Linked DNA regions of Homo sapiens: region 1 is linked to region 2. Evidence: promoter capture Hi-C in 16 types of primary human blood cells and fetal thymus (Javierre and others, 2016). All regions are on one chromosome and are shown on one strand. Each heading gives the region's core, a stretch centred on a gene start or on the middle of the fragment in contact. The rest is flanking DNA. Distances are from core to core; before and after follow the strand shown.

Evidence for each region. Contacts are between HindIII fragments. The CHiCAGO score rates a contact against its expected background, and 5 or more counts as called.
Region 1: a contact is called between the fragment with the promoter of SEPTIN9 here and the fragment with the promoter of MGAT5B in region 2, in 1 of 17 cell types (naive CD8 T cells). The highest score is 5.7, in naive CD8 T cells.

The regions. Positions count from the first base shown.
Region 1 is chr17:77,277,507-77,284,171 of GRCh38, forward strand. It overlaps SEPTIN9 (septin 9), which reads left to right and starts at 3,993. Exons shown (of 12, transcript NM_001113491.2): 1 at 3,993-4,048. The coding sequence starts at 4,030. SEPTIN9-DT (SEPTIN9 divergent transcript) reads right to left here and starts at 4,391. Exons shown (of 3, transcript NR_136503.1): 1 at 4,106-4,391. RefSeq lists an enhancer at 2,075-2,722 and a silencer at 4,324-4,487. The HindIII fragment of the contact is 6,769 bases long and covers 1,789-6,665 here.
Region 2 is chr17:76,866,796-76,873,708 of GRCh38, forward strand. It overlaps MGAT5B (alpha-1,6-mannosylglycoprotein 6-beta-N-acetylglucosaminyltransferase B), which reads left to right and starts at 1,609. Exons shown (of 18, transcript NM_001199172.2): 1 at 1,609-2,302; 2 at 6,056-6,168. The coding sequence starts at 2,235. RefSeq lists an enhancer at 812-1,106 and a silencer at 1,444-1,753. The HindIII fragment of the contact is 19,574 bases long and covers 1-6,913 here.

The DNA.
Region 1 (6,665 bases), core at 2,743-5,242, 410 kb after region 2:
TACTCGGGAGGCTGAGGCAGGAGAATGGCGTGAACCCGGGAGGCGGAGCTTGCAGTGAGCCGAGATCGCGCCACTGCACTCCAGCCTGGGCGACTGAGCAAGACTTCGTCTCAAAAAAAAAAAAAAAAAAAAAAAAAAAAGATGTGATCTCACTATGTTGCCCAGGGTGATCTTGACCTACTGGGCTCAAGTGATCCTCCTGCCTCAACTTCCCGAGTAGCAGGGTCATGCACTTTTGGGCCAGGATCATCTCTTAACCTTCCTGCAAGCCCTTGCCAACTTCCTCCAGGCTTCTGCCCACTGCCTGCGCCTAAAGCCAATGCCATGTGTTTCATATTTTAGTGACCAGAGCACAGTGAGGCACGTCAGACCCATTAGCTTTCTAATCACCACACCAGCTGTGTGAGTTGGGGGTTGGGTACTGCCCTCCCCTTTCATAGGAGTGGGCACTGAGAATTGGGGAAATTACACAACTGGTCATAAGCACTCAATTAGGAGGAGGAGGAGGAGGAGGAACAGAGTGTTTGAAAGACAATTTTTAAAAATTGGATAGCACAGTAGCCTGGGGACATTTGCGAAGGAGTAAGATGGCGGCGTGTGCGTTGATAACCGTTCAAGGTGCCATCGTGACGGTCCTGAGCCAGGAGGGAAAGAGTCATATGTTTGCTATGCTCTTCTCACCAAGGCAGGGGATTGTGTCATATGTTTTAGAGAGTTGTCTGTGAAAAACAATTAAAACTTGATGCTTAGGCCGGGTGTGGTGGCTCATGCCTGTAATCCCAGCACTTTGGGAGGCCAAGGCAGGCAGATCACTTGAGGTCAGGAGTTGGAGACCAGCCTGGCTAACGTGGTGAAACCCCATCTCTACTAAAAATACAAAAATTAATCGGGCCTGGTGGCAGCAGGCACCTGTAATCCCAGCTACTTGGGAGGCTGAGGCAGGAGAATCGCTTGAATGTGGGAGGCAGAGGTTGCAGTGAGCCAAGATCATGCCATTAAACTCCAACCTGGGTGACAAGAGCAAAACTCCATCTCAAAAAATAAAAATTAAATTAAAAAAATAAAAAAAAAATAGGCCAGGCGCAGTGGCTCACACCTGTAATCCCAGCACTTTGGGAGGCCTAGGCAGGTGGATCACCTTGAGGTCAGGAGTTGGAGACCAGGCTGGCCAACATGGCAAAACCCCGTCTCTACTAAAAATACAAAAATTAGCCGGTTGTGGTGGCGTGTGCCTGTAATCCCAGCTACTTGGGAGGCTGAGGCAAGAGAATTGCTTGAATCCGGGAGGTGGACGTTGTAGTGAGCTGAGATCATGCCACTGCACTCTAGCCTGGGTGACAGAGGGAGACTCTGTCTCATAAATAAATAAATAAACCAGGTGCGGTGGCTCACACCTGTAATCCCAGCACTTTGGGAGGCTGAGGCGGGGGGATCACCTCAGGTTAGGAGTTTGAGACCAGCCTGGCCAACATGGTGAAACCCTGTCTCTACTAAAAAAGAAAAAAATTACAAAAAAAAAAAAATTAGCCAGGTGTGGCGGGCACCTGTAATCTCAGCTACTCAAGAGGCTGAGGCTGGAGAATCACTTGAACCTGGGAGGCAGAGGTTGCAGTGAGCTGAGATCGCACCATTGCACTCCAGCCTCGGCGACGAGGGCAAAACTCCCTCTCAAAAAATAAAAAATAAAAATAAATAAATAAAAACAAAATTTGAGGCTTAAACAATTAAGCTTCGTGCATCTCTTTAATTTTTCTTTTTTTTTTTTAACTCTAATTTCATGACAGATTAAGCTTCATGCATCTCAAAAATGTGTAGAACCCTCATTCCCAGCCTTCCCTCCCTCTCTCTTGTCCTTCTTTCTGATTTCTTGGAATCGGAAGGAAAATTCGGATATCCAGGAACCATCACACAGGAGGCACCCATGTGATGTGTCCAACATCACTCCACGCAGGTGTCCTTGGGTCCTGGGTGCCCAGGTTCCTGTGAATTGTGACCCCAGGCAGAAGCGTGAGCATCCGCAGAGGAACCCACCTACCCAAAGCCAGGGAACAGCCAGGGCTGGCATCCTCAGGGTGACTGTGCTCCAGGGCACCTCTGACTTGTGCTGAGTAAAATGGACAAAGCCAGCAATGCACCCATAACCCAGATTCTTGAGACACCGCTGGACTTTGGGAATCCCAGGCATTAGGCTCGTGGCAGTGTCATCATGGCTAGGCTGGGGGCAGTGTCATCATGGTGCTTGCTGGCCAAGTCAGGACACGGCCTAAGCCGGAATCTGCTGGTGCTGGTACAAGCGGTGAGTGGGCGTGTGGGTGGGGGTTGCGGTTAGGGTGTGGACATCCCAGAATCCAGGACGCTGTTCACAATTCGTCCATACTCCCTGCTCCCCTCCCTTACAGCACTTCCCTCCCGAGGCCTCCTGAGCCTCTAACCCCCAGATAAGGAAAGGGGTGGACTCAGTTGAAGTCCAGTGTCCACTCCGGTCCAATCAGCTCTACCTGGGGTGAGGGGAAACTCCTCTGGCTGGGCTGCTCCCTCTGCAGGGCTGTGGCTGGACAGATTACTCAAGAAAGGAAGCAGGTGGGCCGGAACGAACCCACGGTGCCACATAGGCCTCCGTTCTCATGCATATAAGTTTCCCACACTCAGGCAGGAAATGAAAATGCTTCTTGGACCCCCAAGGAGAGTAAAGGAGAGGGGAAGAGGAGGAGGATTTTTCGGGGCTGTTAGTGACACTTTCAGCCTCCTGTGCATTTTTGGGAGGGCTGCAGGAGAAGGCAATGCTGCGCCCCTACCCAGAACTAGCGAGCGCTTCCCAACTGGCCTCCCGCCTTCCTCTCGTCCTCTACGGCCTCCATTGGCAGCTGTGCAAGGGCCCGGCCCTGCCTCTGTCTCTCCACACTCGCTGTGATACCTCAGGCCTCCCAGGCTCCGCCACGCCCTTCCCTCTTTCGGGAACAGCTGCCTTCCATCACCTTGGCTGCCTGGCTAATTCCTGCTCATTCCTTAAAACCCTGTTTTGATTTCGCCTCAATAAAACTCTGACACCACCCTCCAGTCATAATTAGTCACTTCTTCCTCTGTACGTTGGAAACACCGCTTTATCGTGGAGACTTTAAGGATATCCAAGTAGAGAGAATTCTTCCGTGCAAGTTTTGCATCCTCTCACCACTGCCTGCGTTACCCGAGTTGTAAAGGGCGGCTCCCTGTGTCTGCCCCGCTGCACCGATACACCGAGCTGCGCACGGTGCCCAGCGCAGGGAGAACAAATGATCATCTGTCCAACGCGCCCATTTACAGGTGAGGAAACTAAGGCTCCAACTCAATCGACGCACTCTGCCCTTTTGATTACCAGAAAAGTAGCAGGACAGGTGTCCTGTCCCGCCCTACCCCGGCCCACTAAGCCGGCACCCCGGCTCCGACCCCCGGCTGTGCCCGGCGCCGCCGCGGTGCCCGGCGCCGCCGCCTCGCCCGGCGGGGCCGCCCGGAGCGCCCGCACCTCCGCCCGCTTCCACCTGGCCGGGCCCGCCCCGCCCGGACTCGGGACTGGGAAGTGCGGCGACTCCCGGAACCAGCCATTGGCGCCAGCGCGGGGAGCTGGGGGTGCAGAGCTGCGGGCGCGGCGGGCCACGCAGGCGGCCCCCACCCCCGGCCTGGCCTGGTCTGGTCTGGTCTGCGCTGCCGCGCGGGGGCGCCCCCTCCCAGGCCCGGCGCCCGCCAGCCCCGCTCCGCCAGGTGCAGCGCAGCGCAGGGGTGGGCGGGGGTGGGGCTCGGCGCGCACGTTCACGGGGCGGGGAGGGGGCGGGTCAGGGGCGGGACCACAGCCGGCTGGGCCGGGGTTCTATGCGCATCTCCGGGGAGGGGCGGGGCGGGGGCGGGGCCGGGGCGGGGCCCGGTCGGTGCACTCCAGACGGCGGGCCGCCCCCTCTTCCCGCCTTCCTACTACCGGCCCAGGATTAGCGCCCTGGGAGCGCGCGCCCCGCTGCCTCGCCGCCACACTTTCCTGGGAGCGGCGGCCACGGAGGCACCATGAAGAAGTCTTACTCAGGTGGGCTTCGCGCCCGGGGTGGGGAGGGGTCGGTGTCCCGGGACCAGCGCTGCTCACCTGAGTGCCTGCGGCCGGGAGTGGCGAGGCGCCCCCGGAGCTGAGCGAGTCCCCGCGGCGGGCACACTGCAGGTCGAGTTCCTCCCAGGACAGGGCCGCTGTCGGGCCGCTTTCGACCTGAGCCGACCGTCCCCTGCGCTGTCTCCAGCCCTTGCTCGAGTGTCGGAGGGGCTGCCCTGGGGGACGCTCCCTCTTCCTCGCCCCTTGCACCCTCGCAGGAATCGCTGACTTTCCAGGTCGGCCGGGTGCTTTGGGTCCCTGTGCGTCTGTGTGGGTGAATGGGGTCGGGGCTAGGTGGAGGGGTGTCCTTGGGTTCAGCCTCTAGGGCTGGTGGTCCAGGCCGCAGCATCCTTTCTTCGGATTCTCTTCGGTTTCTCCTCTACTTAGTGGGGCACGGGACGGCCTCCAGATGGGACCGTCCAGCAGCGCCCAAACTTGGCGACTCGGGTTCACGTTTTGCGCTCAGGACGCCGCCCGCGGCTGACATCCTCACTCCACCCTAGCAGGGCCCGCCTTAAGTAGGCGAAGGGGGCCTGACTTGGGCCTCACCATGAGCCGGTTCAGGAGCTTTCATTTCATAAGAGGCTCCCGCTCTGGCACTCTGAAGTTCCATTTCACAGATGGGCACACCGAGGCCACAAGGGCAGGTTAAGAGAAATCCAGATCTTCATTATTTGTCTTTTCCTTCCTTTTTTTTTTCCTTTGTGGTTTTCTCCAAAGGATCCAGGCAGGCAGGATCCTTTGTCCTCCTCAGTCCTCAAATTATAAATAGCGTCTCCTCTTCTAAATCTAGAAACCGTTTGTTTAATGTCCCTCCTTTAATTCATTCAGATAGAAAGGTACCTGCCAAGGATCCATGAATTAATTTTTATTGATAGGAGAACAGAATCATGGGCCTTAGTTGGAGGTGAAGGAGTCATCGGGGCCATCCCCCTGCCTTTGGGCCATTGTCGGTTTCCTCTGGCTTTCCATATTTAGGAACCAAAATGAGTGATAAAGTACCTTGTCTCAAAGAGGATTACTCAGAACTTCCCCGAAAATACCCTTCTGGGTCAGTAGCTTAGAATTTCAACTTTCACCCGGTTGTTGCGAACAAGATGGCCCTCTACGCACCCGGAGCACAGCTCTGTCAGGAGCGTGGGTGGGTTGGTGTGCTGGTGGGCGGGAGCGGGCTTCCAGGTGGCACATGCTTGGTTTTGGCACCGGGGCTTCCTCCCCAACATGCTCCAAATACTTGAGATTGTTGTGGGGATCGCGCGGTGCATGGCCCTTTCCAGGGGATCTCTAGCCCGCCCAGGGAGGGCCCTTTGCCCTTGGTTTCTTACACTTTACCTCCCACTGGTGGGTCCAGACAGTGGGGGTGACCGGGGTCCTCCCAGGTCGTGGGTCCTGGGTTTTTTCTGCGGAGACCCTCCTGCACAGATGCCGGAAGGGCCCTGAGGCAGGCTTGGAGTCTCTGCACCTGCGGCTTACTGGGAGGTGGGGAGACCATCACTTGTCCTTTTCTCCTCTCCTCCACACACACCTACCCCACCCCTCACTGGGTTTCTTTTTTTTTTTTTTTTTTAAAAAAAAGGACAGAACCTTTTGCAGTAGGTGGAAGTAGAGTTTGTGGAGTGAGCAGGAACCAACTCTTGTACAGCAGCCTCGGTGCCTCCTTGTGTTTACCTAAAGGGGCAGGCCCCTCTGAGGATGGGGGAAGGGAGGGCTCAGACCATTTCTGGTTTGCTCCCTGCTTGGCAGTGGCCCAAGGTGTGCTGGGTCACTGTGTTGCAGTTGTATGGAGTGGGACTGGAGGGGGCTGATGGTGGGGGTGGCCTCTTGCCCTCATTCTGAGTGTCCTGGAGCTGTCTTGGCACCAGCCCTTTTCCGGGTACGGGCACTCGCAGGAGTCAGGCTGACCCCCCAACAAGCCATCGACACCATGAAATTAAGGAAAGCAGCAAAAGATGTTAAAAATCCCCCAAGGCTCTGACAATCCAAGGACAACAGGAAGGTCTTTATTTTTTCATCTAGACTGTGCGGGATTATTGCTTCCAGACCTGTATGTGGGCTTCAGAATAAACGGAATGACCATAATGTTGTTCCCGGTAGACCTGGTTTGAACATTCGTGAGCCTCTGAAAAGGAGAAAGATTTTAGAAGGATGTGTTGGGGCAATCTCAAGTACCGTGGGTCTATAGACAGTCATCGAAGACACTTTATGTGCTGGGCACACATGGCCAAGTCTGAGTGGGTACAGAAATGGTAATGAGATATAGTCCTTGCCTGCAGAGAACTTACATTCTCACCGGGAGTCAGGATGAGGGCGAGACACCAGCTCATTAACACCCTTCCCTCCTGAGCAGTTCAGCCTCCAAATACTACAGGAATGCCCCGGAGGTTTTAGGTGGAGGTGAGATTGAGCTGGGCCTTGAGGAAGGAGAAGTCTTGAGTAGTGGAGAATAAAAAGGGACTTGGCCAGGTGCGCTTGAAGTCCCAGCTACTCAGGAGGCTGAGACACGAGGATCGCTTGAGCCCAGGAGGCTACTCAGGAGGCTGAGACACGAGGATCGCTTGAG
Region 2 (6,913 bases), core at 359-2,858:
GAGGCTTTCCCGCTCCAACTTCAAAGTCCAGATCTAAGGGTGTGTGGCCCAGGGGAAGAGGGGAGTACCTTCCCCTACCTTCTAAATTCTGGCTTCTGTGGAGGGTAGGCCACCTCCCCAGATGACCCACACCAGAGGTGGCCATGCCTTCTAGGGAACCCCATCTCCACCACTGAGGAAGAGGCTTCCCCTTTGGCCTAAAATGGCAACCAGATATAAATGCCACCCCCTAAGCCTACTCAATCAGAAGAACCCCCAATCAGAAGAGAGACACCTAATCAGAAGGACCATTTCATTCCTTAGTGTAGATATGGCTTATTGCCAGGATTTGTGGCAGATGTAGGCACCCAGGCATGAGATGTGATTTACAGGCCTGGCAGAGACCTCTGCCCTCCAACATCTCCTTAGCCAGCCTGCCACGATGCCCAAATTTCCGGCCACCATTCATCACTCTTCTGCACAAAGGCACGGTCAGCATGTCCTTGTTCAATGCAAATTTGTTACCTAGCCTGTGTAACACATTATATCTGCTAACACCAATTTATCACCCATTTTCACATTAGCAGAGAGCAAGGCAGTGAGATAATGGAACTCAGCACCGGTAAATTTTGATGAAGAAGGAGCAGCAAAGCAGAGAGCGTGAGTCATGGCCAGTGAGTAATGGCCCAGGAAGGGGGCCGGGAGGTGGGCAGGGCAGGCAGCAAGGGGCCTGGGTATGGGGGATTGGAGGGGACCAGGCCCAGCTGGAGGAAAATAAAGTCTCCTCCTCGCATAAGCCAGGCTGCAGCATCGTGGCCTGAGCTGGGAAGACCCTCAGAGTCATTTGACACATGACTGAGGCTTTGGGCACTTCCCAGGGTGGGGTGGTCAGATATGACCTCGGGAAGTGCTTTTGAAGCCGGAGAGCTTTCTTCAGGCTGGCTCTGCGAGCTCCCAGGAGTCTCTGTCTCTGCAACTGCAAACACATCTCCAGAGCCAGGAAGTACGAGGAGGGGGAGGGGAGGACGCCTAGATGCTAAGAGACGACATGAGATCCTACATGCTTTAGGGTTGCAAGGGACCTTGGTGAGCTTCTGGTCACTATCATTTCATAATGGAGACTCTGAGACGTGCACACTTGATCGCCCACTGGCTAGTGGAGGATCTGGGGCTACAACTCAGTACGCCCCTGCGCCTGGCTCTGTGAGCGGGCCCCAGCACCACAGGCCGAGTTTATACTCAGATCAGTAAGCAAAGAGGAGCCACGGGAGTTTCTGACCAGGGAGGGGCAGAAGATAGGCATGTGTTGCCAAGCGAAATCGTGGGAAGCGGCTGATGAGGAAGCCCACGGAGGCACCTGGCAGAAGAGAAGGGTCTCCGCTGGGTGCGCATCTCTTCTGTGCTCTGCGGGAGCCAAAGCAGCTTTCGGCCCTCGGGGCTGGTGGCGCCCTGGGAAGCTGCTTGGCTCAGGGGAAGGAGCAGGGACCCCCGCCCGCCCGTCCTCGAAGCTGGTCCTCGGCGTCCCAGCCCCGCACGGCCCCGGGCAGGGCGCACAGCGGGGCTGCGGCCACGAGGTGGCGCCGGCGCGCCTTGGAAGCGCAGCTGCAGCTCCCGGGCCGCCCCAGCGCCGCTCGGCCGCCTCCTCCGAGGAACAATGCGGCGCCTCCGGGCGTAGCGTCGCGCGGGGCCGGACGCCGGACACCAGAGCGCGGGCGGCGGAGCCAGCGGGCGAGAGAGCGCGCGGCGGGCGCGGGTTGCCCTCGTCGAGAGCCATGGGCGCGGCGCGGCGCGGGGCTGAGGATCGGCGCGGCCCGGAGGCGCTGGGGACCGGGGCGCGGGCCCGGGGCCGCCTTTAGCCGGCACCGAGGGCGCGGGGCCGGGGATGAGGGCGCCCGCCGCGGGGAGCCCGTCTGCGCGCCGCGGCACCTTCCCGCCCAGCGAGCGAGCCCGAGCAGGCAGACGCGCGGCCGGCGGTCTGGGGGCGCGCCGCCTCCCGGTCCCCAAAATGTGAAGCGGGGAGGGCGGAGACGCAGAGACGGCCCGGCCGGGCGCCCTCGCCGCCCTCCGGCAGCCGCGCCGCTCCCTCCGCTGCACGCCCAGGCCTGAGCAGCGAGGCCACCGGGCCGCGCGCTCCCAGCTTCGCTCGGACGCGGCTTCGGCCCGCAGAGGGTTCGTGGCCCGGACGCGGCGAGAGCTGGGCCCAGGACGGTGCGTCCGGCCTCGCCCGCGGCTGCTCGCACCAACAAGTTTGAACAATGATCACCGTCAACCCCGATGGGAAGATAATGGTCAGAAGATGCCTGGTCACCCTGAGACCCTTTCGGTAAAGTTCCCTCCTGGTTGGTTTTTTCCCCAGGGGGGCGCCGGGTGGAGGTGGGCGAGGTCGGTTCCTGCGAACGTTCAAGTCCTGGTGGCAGAGGGGGCGGTTCACACTTCAACCCCTGGTGATGACCAGTGGGGCTGGGCTGGGGGAACGGATGGCGTTGGGGTTCGGGGTGCGGATGGGGAGGGTTGTGTTATTCGGGGACCTGTCCCGAGTTGGGCAGGGTTGGAGAGGACTCGGGGTGCAGAGGTAAGAATGGGGGCAGAAAACCCCCAGGTCGTGGTCCTGGGCCCAGAAAGTTGCCCCAGCCTGCGCGCCCCTTCCCAGCCCCTCAGGGTCCTTCCTCACCCCGCGGACGGTCCCATCCGGGTGGCAAAGTTAGTGTGCGGCGCCTTGGAGCTCCCCCTCCGGTCCCTCCCGTCCCGCCCGTCTGCCCCTAGGTCGGCTACCCCCCAACCCCTCCGCCTGTGCCACCCTCTCCCCAGCCTTTGGTGGCACTGCTCTCCTCCCCGCGGGGCTCGGGCCTGGCTCCGACGAGAGGGTCCCGAGATTAGAGCGAGGACTCGCTCATCCCAGGATTCGCCCCCGATCGCAGGCGTCGGAGAGGCGGGGGCAGGGGCGGCGCTGCAGGGCTACGGGGCGGCTGGAGCCGAGGCTGCGGCGGAGCGTGGTGGGCGGGCGGTGGCGAAGGCGACACGCTTCGGGCGGCCAACACCTGGGGGCCCAGGCCAGGCAGGGCTGGGGCCGCGCGGGACTCACTGGACCCAGCCAGGGGCCCCCAGGGCCCAGCGGTGCCGGGGCAGCCCCCTCTCCTCCCAGGCATCCGCGGAACCGGCCCGCAGCGGGGTGGGGAGGGGGCGCTGCCCAGTGGACGCCCGGCGGGGCCCGAGTGTCACCCCGTGGGTAGCTGGGCAGCGAGGAAGCTGGGGGAGTGACCGCCCCGGCGCGGGGGCCGGACTCGGGACGTGGCCACAGGTGGGCTCCGGGCGCGGGAAGGAGCCCGAGAAGGCGGAGCTTGCAGGGGCCCTGAACTCTTGCCCTCCAGGTCTCGGCCCAGCCCCACTGTGGTCCCCCTGCCGGCTCCAGACGGGGATGGGGGCGGGGAGACGGTGGCTCACCTGGAGCCCGCCTCCCAGCACACCGGGCCTGTCTGCTGGGCCGAGGAGGCAACCCCAGGGGACGGCAGGGGTCAGGCTGGACCTCTGCGGTCCGGGGGTCCGGGAGGCCCGGAGAGCTGGTGCAGGCCGTGGGTGGTGATGGGGGCGTCGGGAGCCCATGGGAAGCAGGGCGGGAAGCAGGCGTCTCTGGAAAGGGCCTTGCTCCTCCAGGGAAGGCCTTGAATCCCTGGCCTGACTGGGAACGCTGGAGGGTCCTCGCCCCTTCCGACCCCATCCCTGTCCCGCCCTCCGGGCCGCTGGGTGTTTCCTGGCGCGATTGGAAGCAGCCGCGAGACCCCAGCACCACGGACAGTGCTCGCGACCCAGGGCTGCTTCCCTGTCTGGTCCTGCCCTGGTTTTCTTTCAGGCCCTTATCTGAAGGCAGGATTGGGGGTGGAGGTGCATGGGTCCCCAAAGTTGTGTAACTTCACCCCAGGGTCTCCCTGGGCTGCCCGGAGACCCGCAGCCATCAGTGAGTCCCTTCAGTTGAGGTGGGGGGCAGGCTGCAATCATAGCACCCCAGCTTATTCATCCTCAAAGGCAGGCTGGGGTCCTGTTCCCTGTGGTTTTCCCAGGGCTGCTGGCAGGGTCTTTATTCCATAGGTGCCCCTGGAATGTTGCTTGAGTGGATACATGGATGGCTGAAGCCATTTTAACTTGAATCCACTCCAAATGGCCCCCAGCTGCCTTGGGGGACATTGAACCCCAGGATGGGGTTCTGGCAGAGGGAGATGCAGATGAGGTGTGTTAGGGGGCTTCAGGTTCTGGGCTGAAGGGGGTAGACACCTTTCTCATAGCAGGGTTGTTGGATCCTGGCAGGCAGCCCAGGTCCCCAGCTCTAAATACAACTCCTTCACTCCCCTGGCCTCTTCTCCAGGGACTAGAGACATGAGTGGGGGAAGTCCGTCCTTGTCCTCAGACTGGGAGGACAAATAGCTGATTTCCCCTGGGATCTCCCTGAGCATGGGACAGCACCTCTCCTGTGCCATGGCCGTGGCTGTTGTCTCCAGAGCCACCTGACTTCCTCTGAGGGACCCCAAGATCTGAGCCCCACCCCCAGGCTTGGTGGAATTCCGTGAGGCGTCCCTCTGCGCTAAGGAAAGTGTCCCTTGCGCGGTCTTGCCTACTGAATCATGTCTCCTGTCCTTCCTGCTGGGGGTGTGGTCTTCGAGTCTCTCCTTGGAGCTCCCAAGCCCCTCTCTGCTTTGGGGTTCTCCTCTTCTCTGCCCAAATCTCTAACAGCTTCCTTTAAATATGGGCTGGGAATTTTGTTGTGCTTTTTATTTCCTTCTGCAATTATATGTTTTCTTTAATGGACCAAATTTTAATTAAATACTGCTCTGCCAGTTTCAAATAATGAAGATTAAAATGCATAAAGCAAGTCTTGCATAAAGACACAAACAAGCATGGAACTTGAGGGCGGGGAGTGGAGGGGCAAGGCCCGGAGGTCTCTGGCATGACGTGGGGCTCTCTCCAGGGAGCCTGACTCCACACAAGATGGGGTTCCTCACCCTGATCTGGGGTTGGTGGGAGGGCGCCCCTCTCAGCTCTACCAGTTCATCAAGTCCTCTGATAGGTTCAAGTTCCCAGAAGAGCCCCAAGGCTGTGCTGGTGAGCTCAGCTTGCCTGTTTGGGGCCTAGGATTGATGAGGGAAGCAGCAGGACCCTGGGTCTGGACTTGAGGAAGGAAGGGTTCTGTGCCTTGTTCCCTGCTGTCCCCCTGGGGTTACCCCAGAGCCTGGCTCCTGCTGGATAATCAATAACTACATGTTGAAGGCAGGAACAGGAGTCCTGTTCTGACCAGCCCTCCCTCCCACCCAGTGTGACAGCACACACACCTATATGACACCCCTTGCACAGGTATGAGGACACCCTGGCCAGTCCGTGGTGCAGGCTGATGACCCTGGGCGTGCCTGCCTAGGGGAGATGTGTGTTGGGGGGAGCCTGGGCATGGGCCGTGTGGCTCTGCCCTGGACATCTTACCATCTAGTGGTGGAAGTGGAGGGGGGTGTTCAAACAAGCTCATGACTGCTGCAGCAAGGCCTCTGCACACTGCACCAAGGCTGGCCTGAGTGATTGATGGGGTCTGGCTGGCCTCAGGCCCTGCTGTGTCCATCACTGGTTCTCAAACTTTAGCATGCAGTGGAATCTTCAGGAGACTTTGCTAAAACAGCTTGCTTGCTCCACCCCAGAGTATCTGATTCAGTAATTTGGGGTCTGGGCCCGGCATTGGCATTTCTAAGGAGTCTCAGGTGATGCTGACTGCTCGTCTGGGGACTGCACTTTCAGGACTGCAGCTGTTAATGAACCAGCTCTGCCTGGAGGCTAGAGCCCGCCTGCCTCATGCCTAAGTGTGCGTCATTCTGCCTTGTGGTTTCTCGTGTGGCTCGAGGCCAGCATCTTGTAGTTGAGCTCTCTTTATCCTATAGTGGGGGGGCCCTCCTGGGTCTGGAGCTCAGCCCCCATCCTTTCATTCTCCCTTGCTTCCTTCACTCATGCACTCATTCGTAAAACATTTGTGCAGCCGGTACGTGGTGGAGCGTCAGGGCACGATGGCCCTTCCTGCCCTCCTGACCCGCCTCCTTCCTCTCCGCAGGCTTTTTGTCCTGGGCATCGGCTTCTTCACTCTCTGCTTCCTGATGACGTCTCTGGGAGGCCAGTTCTCGGCCCGGCGCCTGGGGGACTCGCCATTCACCATCCGCACAGAAGGTACCTTGGTGGGGCAAGGGGAGTGTGAGATGAGTGAGGGCGTTTGTGGGTCAAAGAGGAAGTGCCTCTGAGCCTAGCCCTGTACCTGGCTTTCTGGCCGCCCTGTAGGTGGATGTGAGTGGAGGGGGCCTGGGCTTGGGCCGTATGACCCTCCATGCACTTTGGCTCTGGTCTGGCTGTGGTCATCAGGTTTCCTCTGGCCTGGATTCTCAGGCCAGGCTAGGGCCTTTAAGCCAGGGTCTTCCAGGCCTCAGAAGAGGCTGCCAGTGTTGCTTCTTTAGTTGGGTGTCAGGGGTGAGAGGTCTCTGGATATGACACTTGTCTCCTTGAGGCACACATTTCCTTGCCTTTGGCCCAGGCTGTGGCCATGTGGGAACGGGCCTGGCCATGGGCTTAAATGTCTTATCTCTGAGCTCTTGGGACACAGCTCCCTCCCAGGCCCCATCACTCCTTGCCCACACGATATTTGCAAGGCAGTGGAATGGAGATCAGAGCATGGGCTTTGGGCGTCTGGTGGGTCTGGGCTTGCATCCTTGTCATCACCTACCAGCTGTGTGCCTTTGGCTGAGTCACCTGGCTTCCCTACAGAGAAGGACAGCAGTGACCTTCTGCAGAGGTTGGATTGAAGGGGCTCACACGTGGACATTACCCAGCATGGTTGGTGCCACATGGCACAAGAGTGACCAGCTGGGAGCCCTCCTCCTGAAGCTGGGCCCAGCCCCACCTCATCTCACCTAAGGAGGGG